Linked DNA regions of Homo sapiens: regions 2 and 3 are each linked to region 1. The links are contacts of gene promoters, found by promoter capture Hi-C in human tissues and cell types (Jung and others, 2019). All regions are on one chromosome and are shown on one strand. The core of a region is centred on a gene start or on the middle of the fragment in contact, and the rest is flanking DNA. Distances in the headings are between cores, read along the strand shown. Region 1 holds the start of NRG3 (neuregulin 3). Region 2 overlaps NRG3 (neuregulin 3). Region 3 overlaps NRG3 (neuregulin 3).

Region 1 (3,413 bases), core at 393-2,892:
CAGGACAAGAGAATGCGGGCTCCATCATCCACGCCAATCAGACAGTGCTGGGGGAATGTATTAGAAAGTTGCCTTTCTCAACCTCATATTCTTAACGCTTGTAAATAAAAACCCCTCCTCTTCGGTTTTCACTTTAGACCAGGAAATCTGGGGAGAGTTGGCAAGCAAGGTTTTGCACTGTCGGCATATGTCATGCTAACACTGGCTCTTTGCCCCTTGCCTCGGCAGGTACCACACAGCGCTGGAGAAATAGGTACACAGGTGCCTCCCCAGCCAAGGGAAGAAAGCAGTAACGGAATTTGGGAGTCCAACCCCAAATCCTTTCATATTTACCTCTCACAAACACTTGCCTTGTAACGTGTGTACCTGTGCGTACATTTACAGGTAAAGACAATATTTTAAGGCAAGTTCACATAAATGGCTTGGAGATATCTGACAGGTCTGATTATACAAAGGTCTTCTGCTCCACCTGCATCTCTCAGGAACTCAGGCAAAGGTGGCCTTCCATCCAGCCGCACCGCCATCCGGCAGGGGAGGGCACAGGCACCCTCCCACCCGCATCCGCCCCCGCCCCCTCGCCCAGCAGCGTCAGTCTCTGACCCCACTGGATCCGTACAGGAGACGACTCACAATCGGTCGGAAGCTGCTTTTGCCCCCCCACCCCACCGCAAACGGGGGTTTGCTTGGATCATTTATCTATCTTGTGTGCATTAAGAAACCAGCATTAGCTGCTAGTGGGAGGCGCTACTCTGCCCGAATCCCAGCCCGCCGCGGCGATTCTGCACACACACACGCACCAGCCTGGCAGCCAGAGCCCGTCTGGAGACGCCCTCAGCCCGGGGTCTGCGTTCCCCGGGACCCCCGACGCAGTCTCCCGCTTCCGTCCCCCACGCTCAACCGGGCAGGGCGCCGGGGCGTGATTTCCGATCCTCTGCCTGCTTGTTGGGTCCCTCGGAGGCGGGTCAGACCGCACCCGCCGCGGGCGCCCGGTGCGCCCCCAGCCCCTGGCTCGCGGCGGCGACAGCGGCGCTGTTCGCTGGAGTTTGACTCTCCGGCGGCGGCGGCAGCGGCGCGCAGCAGCGAACGGCTGGAGCAAGGCGAGCCGGGCCGCTAGCCCTCCGCGCTGCGCTGGGATTGGTCTCTCCAGAAGAGTGCTGGCCGAGGGTTGGCTGCGGGCCGGCTGAAGAACAGGTGCACCTCACCGCCCGGGCTCGCGGAGCAGCCGCCGAAGATCGCGGCGGCCAGGCAGGCCCTCTGTGTCGGAATGCGGGTGGCGGGCACCCGGCACCCCGCGACCGGCCGCCGGGGCCACTGAAGGCGGCGCGAGGCCCAGGCGCGGCGCGAGCGGGCGCCCCAGGGAGCGGGCTGGGCGCGGTGCCCCGAGGATGTCGGCGCTCCTGGAGCGCACGCAGGCGGCGGGCAGCAGCAGCAGCAGCGGGCGCGGGGACCCGGCGCGCAGGAGGCGGCTTGGAGGGCTGCAGACGCGCCCCGCCGCTCTCTGACCGACCGGAGGCGCCGGGGGCCCGTCTCGCCCCTCTTCCGAGCTCCTTACCGCCCCCTCCCCGGCCCCGTCCCCTCCCCCGCTCCTCTCCTCCCCGCCCGCCGCCCGCCTCTCGGGGGGAGGGGCGTGGGGGCAGGGAGCGGATTTGCATGCGGCCGCCGCGGCCGCTGCCTGCGCCCGAGCCCGCCGCCGCCGCCGGAGCCCGCGCCCGCGCCCGCGCCCGGCCCGCGCGGCCCCATGCCTCTGCCGCGGCCCTCGGGGGGGCGAAGGTGAAGACCGGCTCCTAGGATGAGTGAAGGGGCGGCCGCTGCCTCGCCACCTGGTGCCGCTTCGGCAGCCGCCGCCTCGGCCGAGGAGGGCACCGCGGCGGCTGCGGCGGCGGCAGCGGCGGGCGGGGGCCCGGACGGCGGCGGCGAAGGGGCGGCCGAGCCCCCCCGGGAGTTACGCTGTAGCGACTGCATCGTGTGGAACCGGCAGCAGACGTGGCTGTGCGTGGTACCTCTGTTCATCGGCTTCATCGGCCTGGGGCTCAGCCTCATGCTTCTCAAATGGATCGTGGTGGGCTCCGTCAAGGAGTACGTGCCCACCGACCTAGTGGACTCCAAGGGGATGGGCCAGGACCCCTTCTTCCTCTCCAAGCCCAGCTCTTTCCCCAAGGCCATGGAGACCACCACCACTACCACTTCCACCACGTCCCCCGCCACCCCCTCCGCCGGGGGTGCCGCCTCCTCCAGGACGCCCAACCGGATTAGCACTCGCCTGACCACCATCACGCGGGCGCCCACTCGCTTCCCCGGGCACCGGGTGCCCATCCGGGCCAGCCCGCGCTCCACCACAGCACGGAACACTGCGGCCCCTGCGACGGTCCCGTCCACCACGGCCCCGTTCTTCAGTAGCAGCACGCTGGGCTCCCGACCCCCGGTGCCAGGAACTCCAAGTACCCAGGCAATGCCCTCCTGGCCTACTGCGGCATACGCTACCTCCTCCTACCTTCACGATTCTACTCCCTCCTGGACCCTGTCTCCCTTTCAGGATGCTGCCTCCTCTTCTTCCTCTTCTTCCTCCTCCGCTACCACCACCACACCAGAAACTAGCACCAGCCCCAAATTTCGTAAGTAAACACTGTGTCTCAACTATGATTTACTACTGAGTTTCCCTTCTGCCCTCCTGCTGTCTTTTTCCCTCGCCGCCTGTTTTCTAGCAAGCCCCCTCCCCCATCCCAGGTTTGGGGCAGAGTGAGAGCTGATTAAAACTGGCCACCAGCGGGGAAGAAGGTGCCAGCCTGCTCTGGTTCTGGGGGGGTGGGGGCGTGTAGGAACGGGAGGGAGATTGTCAGGCTCCACTGGCCCCACTTTAGCGGGTCCCAAGTGAGAACAGATCTCCCAACTCCCTTCAAAGGGTTAACGCGAGTGCGATCCCTCCTCACTGCAGACCTGCTGGCGAGCTGCCGGATCCCGCTCCAGTAGAGGGCCAGGGAGGGAGAGAGGGCCTTCCCGAAGGCACTGAGCCCCTTCTCCGCCCGCCGGTAGGAAGGAAAGAAAGCAAAGCACATGCAAATTGACCGACGATAAACCACAAAAGGAAGTTATGTCCTTGTGTGGGGTGACGAGTTGATGGAGATAATGGTAGAATGTTGCTGAGGACGCTTCCAGCAGCCCTGACCTGGGCAGGAACCAGAAAGGGTTAATTAGAAGCCACTGGGAGACTTGGGGAAAGGAGGCGATCCAAGGCAAAGGGCTAAACTGACCTCCTAGCCTGCCTGTGGCCATTCCAAGGTGTAGACATAGATTCTGTGACCGCCGAGAGTGAGTTAACTAGGAGGAAATATGAAGGGAGCCCTGCAGAGCTGCCACCTCTAGGGTCCTGACGAAGGAGGAGTTTTTTTCAGCCCTGCCAAGCCTTTGCTTTTGTT
Region 2 (3,413 bases), core at 621-3,120, 390 kb after region 1:
TTCAAACAATGTGTTAGGTAATAATCAGGTCTGATACATGCAGCATCTGTGAACTCCTTACTTGATGCTGTTTGTTTTTAATAAATATGGTGTCACAGGTCATAGGTGGGGATATTTTAATAAGTGACACTAGGATGGAGTACTTACTGACTGCTAGGCGCAGTGTGCCTTCTATATGTGATCTGCTTTTTCCCTTTTACGAACACGATGAGGAGGGTGTTTGAATTGCCATTTTTGTATATGTAAATAGAGGCTCAGAGAGTTAAAAAGCTTGTCCAAAGTATTCACCTAGGACTGTGCTGATTAAGAATCTTAGCACTAACCTAATTTTTATCTGGAATGCTGGATACAATTGAAAGTTTATAGTTGAGGATAGGAAGGACCAAAGATTGGAGTCTTATCCCAGATCATTAACACCAGTTAGGTCATGCATCCTTCCTTACCTGCTTTGTATAAAAAATAAAATAAAATTTAAAAGTGACACTAGAACAACGTTTGTCTTGTTAATGTCTGTAAGATGGTTTCCAAAACGATGAGTCTGGGGACTTAATAAAGCAATTTAGAAGCTTTTGCAGTAGCAGTAACAGGAGGTGGGTGTACATCAGTGGGAAAGAAAGATGTGGATGGCTGAGGGAAGAAAATAAAGAAAAACGGATACAAGATAGAGATGATTGAATTAGGCTTGAATTACTCAAGGGATGGGCAAGAGAAGGTAGACAAGGCTGAGATTTTTGCCTCTAAATCCACAAAGTTCATGCACTCTGAATGAGATTTGGAGCATTTTAAAACCTTTTAAGTTTTCTATTGAACATTTTTATCCTCCAAATCATTTTCTTCCAGTGTGCTAAGATTATAGCCTTTAGCTAATGGTTTTCTCTCTCAGTTATGCTCCTACCATTTATAAGCATTAATTTTGCTGAACTGATATAGTAAAAATGTTCAAAATAACATTTGGCAGAGCATTTTACTCTGACTACTCAAGAATAACCTATAATCTTTTCTTTTTATACTACATACACACACACCACACACACACACTCATATACACACTTACACCTGTTTTTCCAGGATTTACGTCTTTACCTAAAATTGTATAAATTTTTCCATAGTCGAGATGTATAATTTAACCTTCCCTTTCCCAAGGGATGACATGTAGCCATTTATTTCAATAAGAAACTCCAAGAGCACTAGTATTCACAAGCCAAATACAGATAACACCAAAATTTTTGCTAAATAAAGGTGATGCATCCATTAGCAAATGTTGTTGCTTTTAAAGTGATGGTTTATATTTAAAATCCAGTTTAAGTTAAAGTTAGGATATACTGATGGTTTGCACATGATGAGTGGCAGAATAAATGAGTCAAAGTTAACTCAGAGGGGCTTTGTTTATTTTTTTGTTGTTGTTATTTTGCTTTTCCTGGGCATGTGGGTAAATCATCTCCCCAGATGTGATGACTGATGCTTACTGGGCAACGAAGAGAAAATGTCACATAGGCATTGGATATGTGAGTCTGGAACTCAGGGGAGAAATAGGGGCTGGAGTTAAAAAACGTAGAGCCTTTGTATTAGTTCGTTCTCACATTGCTAATAAAGACATACCTGAGACTGGGTAATTTATAAAGTAAAGAGGTTTAATGGACTCACAGTTCCACATTGCTGGGGGGCCTCAGGAAATTTACAATCATGGCCGAAGGCACCCTTCACAGGGTGGCAGGAGAAAGAATGAGTGCTGAGCAAGGGGGAAACCCCTTATAAAACCATTAGGTCTCAGAACTCACTAGTGATCATGAGAACAGCCCGGGGGAAACTGCGACCCCCACTCCCGCCCCGCCCGATTCAATTATCTCCACCCGGTCCTGCCCTTGACACATGGGGATTATTACAATTGAAGGTGAGATTTGGGTGGGGACACAGAGCCAAACCATATAATCCTTGTTGTGGAAATGTTATTTAAACCCACAGACTGGATAAGCTCACCAAAGGCGTATGTGTACATGGAGTAAAGGGAAGAATGACTGAACTTTGAGGCACATCATCTTTAAAAGTCGGGAAAAGGAAGATTTAACAATGTTGCCAATGAAGGAGCAGGGAAAGAAGCCACAGGCAGGGAGAGAAATCAGAAAATGAGGACATCCTAATGGCCAAGGCGGGAAAATATTTCAAGAATGGAGGGATCAATCATGACAAGTGCCACTGAGAGGTCAGGTAAAATGAGAACTGAGAATTGCCTGTTGGACACTTAAGGAGAATGACTTTGAGCTTTGTGAAATAAAAGCCTGCCTGGAATGGGTACAAAAGAGAGAAGGGAGGGAAGTGAGCCAGTGAGTACAAACAAGTCTTGCCTTTCACTTGATCAGGAGGCAAGATAGCATATTCTGCTACAGATGAAGTGAAGTGGGTTGACTTGGTGGTAGAAGGCTAAGGAAGTTCTCTCAGCAAGTTAACTAGGTGAGAATGAGGGGTGTGTGTGTATGTAGTGCCAGAGATGTGGGGAGAGAATAAAAGGTGTGAGAAAGTCACCCTTGATAATAAGATAGTAAATTAACCACCAAAATTGGGGCCGCCAGTGCCAAGAACTCACTTGAGGGCTCTAATTATAAATTTATAGTAAGACCAGTCAGCAGAGTCATTCGTTTTTATCTGCATCATGATACATGTAAGGAGGTGACAGAGATCTGCTGAAACCCAACTTGGGATTTTGACAATGGAAGGACAGAAGTGTGGGGATGTTCAACTGGATTTATGTAAGGTATTATAATGATGGGAAATGAAATCTAAATCAGCTAAGAAAGAAAATGAGAGCACGAGGAAGGTTATGGACGATGGCACTGTAATGTATTATAGTCAATGGATTGGAGATCCCAAGAGGTCAAGAAACAACTAAAGTGACAGTGAATATACTAGGGTAAGAAAGCTTGAAAGTTACAAGGTAGTAAAGTGTCTGAAATTGTTATTTTTGGATGTGGCGTAATAATAGATAACGATGAGTTCTGAAGTATGATTAATTAAGGTAAAATATAGGACATGAACATTGGAGAATGGCTGGTTAACAAACTGAGAAACCATTTTCATGGTTGGACCATCTACATGCTTACTGACATCACCAACAATTATGGCAGTAGCCTTATGTTAAAATCAATGCCAGATGCCAATATCATCAGAGGATGGTGGTGGGGAGGCTATCAGAAGACTGTAAATGATGGAAACCAGAAGCATTCATTGATAGTGAAGTTTTGCATTTTAGGGTATGAAGAAGAAAAGAAGGAAAATGTCTTGGAAGTAACAATTCGGAGCATGAATTGTCCCTATACAAACTCCAAGACTTGTGGCATGTGGAGAATTAAAGGAATAGAGAACAAAATTCATCCTTTAATAGGGCTTCAGAGAAAAGTTCTTAGGCGCCAATTGATTTT
Region 3 (3,413 bases), core at 288-2,787, 280 kb after region 1:
ATGAGTGAACCACCACAGGTGGGGGTGAGATGAGTCAGATAGGGAAGACAGCAGAGACTGTCTACCCGGAATCAACTGAGGAATGCAGACCTCACCCAAACAATTCACATTCCTGTTTTTTTGTTTTTGTTTTTGTTTTTGTTTTTTTTTTAAGCATCAAGCCTACCTAATAAAATATGAATTATAAAAAATAATTCAGTTGCCTAGATTTGACCCCAATGAATGATAGTTTGAGGTCTTAAAATATAATTAAAATGCAGCTTGAACCTGAAAGTGGCAGACTATCAAGTTATTATCCCCAGTTGTTTGGGTTTCTATTACATGAATCCAGTTATAAAAATAACACTTAATACATTATAAATTCCTAATTAGGGAGCTACCCAGTAACTGATTATATTGACAAAGTCATGCCATAAATAAGAATTAAAAAGTTAATATAATTGATTAGCTAGGATGCCCTCACTCTTGTTTTTGCCATTATTTAAAATTTAATTGCTTTGCAACATTTCCAGATGTTGATTTTGGACATTTTTTCATGTGTTTTATTGCCTGTGAGCAGTTTTTATGTACTTGTAATCGGAGCTTTTCACGTTTCTTGGATGTAGAAAAATCAATTAAAATGAAGCAAATATTTTTGAAACCTAACCAGACTTTTGTCTTTGTTTTCTCATAAAGTTCCTCCATAGAAATGTGTGGCATGGGAACAGAGCCTAATACTTTCTGAATAAGATATTAACAGGCTTGTAGTGGATGCTGGGAATTTAGAAAGCTCTGTTTTTTTTTTTTTTCTAAAGCCTCCCAGTAGAATGTCAGACTAATAAATGGACTGCATATTTCCACAGTGTTTTTATGACATGTTTCACACACTGTCTTGGTGCAGATATGAGAAAGCCCTTGTCCACAGCCCAGTTCTGACTCACTCATTAATTTTACCTTGTATTCAGTTTTCTTGGGGTGGATCTAGACTAGAATAGAATAGAATAAGCCGACCTTTAACTACAGTCCTTAAATGAGGAAATCTCCACCCTGGGCCAGCTGTGCCAGGAATCCCGACGAGATGGAACTCCGCTGTGGTTTATAGGCAGGGCTGATTTTCAGGGGGGAGTGCACCCATCTGGACTCCCTGCTGTTCCCATCAATCTATTCCAGCCCTGGTACCCCTGGACCACCCTACTGTCCAGCAACTAAAGGATTAACAGGAGCCACCTCCAGGAGCCTCCGGGACCCTTCAGAAGGTGTCTGATTTGATGGATCAGAGGCTAGGCCACTGCCAGCTCTCTGCACATATTTTACATATCACCCATTTGCAGGTGTTGAAGACCGGTAAGTGCCCAGGAGCTGGCAGGTGTTGCAAACATGTCAGTGTACCTGGTGGGGGCGCTCCTGCCCAGCTGATAGGAGACAGCTTCTACCCAGCCCACCCCTTTGGTGGCTACACCAGCTTGGCACAGTCTCTCATTGCTGAAGAGCATCCCCCCGCCAACTCCGCCCAATCCCCACCTCCAGTCTTGACTACTTTTCATTGGTTTGTTTGTTTAAATTGACATCTCCTGATTTTCAAAACCTTGCTGATTAACAAAGCAAAAAGAGCACACACAAAAAAAAAAAAAAAAAAAAAAAAGTCAAAAACAAAGCAAAAAACTCTCAGTCTAAAACAGATAAACAAACCAACAAACAAAGCCCAGGGGCTGCTAGAGGTTGACTCTTGTAAACTGCAAGAACGGACACCACAAACTCCAGAGCAGAGGGCGCCTGGACATTCCAGTGACTTCATCAAGCAGTAAAATATCCGTCTTTCATCTGCTTCTGCTGATGACCAATACTATGCCTGTCACAATTTCCAGTCTTTTAGAGCTACTCTTTGATTACACACAACCGAGACTTTTTCTAAGCCTAGGACATTTTCTGTGTCCTTTTAAACATTGTTTACATCAAAATAATGATATGGATAGGTAAAAGAAAAATACAAAACTACTTGTGCTGTAAAGTAGTTCTATTTTAGAAAAGGAAATCTTGACAAAACTTGAGCCTTGTTAGGAAAAAAGAAAAATGACAAAGCAGTCATGTACAGAAAGCCTGGATAGGATTTTCAATCTCCTTGTGCAAAATCTGGCAAAAATGTATGCTAAGGGTCCAAAGCAGGAAGTGCTCAGAAAGCAAATACAGAAACTCAGCTTAGCAAAGGGGCGAAGCCAGAGAGGGATATAAAGGAACAGAGGAACGGCTGAGGATAGAGGTGAGGAAGCTGGACTCACACAGACTGGGTCTTGCTCAGCCTTCTGCAGTACCAGTGTCAGGGCCAGGCACACAGGAGTGACTAGGAGTTTGAACTGAAATAATGCATGACTAAGAATTAATTTGGGATGGTCTTCAGGTGGAATGATTGGAAATGTTGTTTTACTTTTAATTTTTCAGTACATGAAAGAAAAGATGCCTGTTTTCTAATCATTGAAATCTTATTATGTACAGAAATTTTCCTAGCAGAGCACACGAGGATGAAAAAGAATCAGATGGGAGATGAGGATCAGGACTCTTTCTGTGAATCGGAACCTCTCTGCTCTGCTCCTTTTCTGGTTTCCTCTGTCTGTCCTTCTCTTGTCTCCATTATTCATCCTGTTTCTGCCTTGATGTCATCTTGTTGGATGTCCCATCTCACTTAGTCGTCTGTAATTTGTAAGTAGCATTTAAATTATTTGTGGTCTTTATCTAATAAAGCTTTATTCTCTCTGGTCTTGATGAATGAAGAAGGCAAACTGAGCCTTGTTTTTTCCCTTATTGTCTTACTTCCCCAAAGCACCTGAATGAGTTCTGTGTGGTCTTTATTGACCTGTGATGATCACTGTCCCATAAAAAAAGCATGGTAGCGTAGTGCTTCAGCATAGGCTCTGCTCAGAAGACTTGGATCCCAATCCTTACTCACTTGTCGAGGGAGTTTGAACAAATAAGTGAATTTCTATTGACCTCACTCTTTCACATATGTATAAGGGGAATTGTAATAGTACATGTTTTTTTAGGTCATTAAGAGGATTAAATAGATAGAATATAAAATACGTTAGCATAAGTGCCTGGGACAGGGAGAATACTCAGCTAAGTTGGAAATCAGGTGTTGGCAAACTTTTTCTGTAAAAGGCAAGAAACTAAATATTTTAGGCTTTGTGAGTCAAAGTCTCTGTCTTAACTCCTTAACTCTGCCATTGTACCGTGAAAGCAGCCACAGACATATGTAAATGAGTGAGTGTGGGTCTGTTCCAGTTAAACCGTATTTACAAAAAGGGACAGCAAATAAGATTTGGCTCATGTCTCTCAGTTTGGCGATCCTATTGTAGAATATAGTTTTGACATACTGGAAACAGCTTCTCTGTAAGTTAGGATCTGCTTTGTTGCTAACTAATTTAATGTGAAATTTAATTGAC

What was found. Contacts are between HindIII fragments. The study calls those that stand out against the background at their distance.
Region 2: a fragment that was not itself captured here is called in contact with the fragment with the promoter of NRG3 in region 1 in 2 of the 25 tissues and cell types used here (dorsolateral prefrontal cortex and hippocampus).
Region 3: a fragment that was not itself captured here is called in contact with the fragment with the promoter of NRG3 in region 1 in 3 of the 25 tissues and cell types used here (dorsolateral prefrontal cortex, heart left ventricle and hippocampus).

Annotation. Positions count from the first base shown.
Region 1 is chr10:81,873,552-81,876,964 of GRCh38, forward strand. It overlaps NRG3 (neuregulin 3), which reads left to right and starts at 1,643. Exons shown (of 9, transcript NM_001010848.4): 1 at 1,643-2,612. The coding sequence starts at 1,790. LOC124902549 (a long non-coding RNA gene) reads right to left here and starts at 967. Exons shown (of 2, transcript XR_007062377.1): 1 at 798-967. RefSeq lists an enhancer at 2,592-3,354. The HindIII fragment of the contact is 10,350 bases long and covers 1-3,413 here.
Region 2 is chr10:82,262,592-82,266,004 of GRCh38, forward strand. All of the region lies in intron 1 of NRG3 (neuregulin 3), which reads left to right. Among named protein-coding and RNA genes, the nearest start is that of NRG3-AS1, 31 kb to the left of the region's middle. The HindIII fragment of the contact is 4,021 bases long and covers 1-3,413 here.
Region 3 is chr10:82,148,934-82,152,346 of GRCh38, forward strand. All of the region lies in intron 1 of NRG3 (neuregulin 3), which reads left to right. Among named protein-coding and RNA genes, the nearest start is that of NRG3-AS1, 82 kb to the right of the region's middle. The HindIII fragment of the contact is 4,871 bases long and covers 1-3,413 here.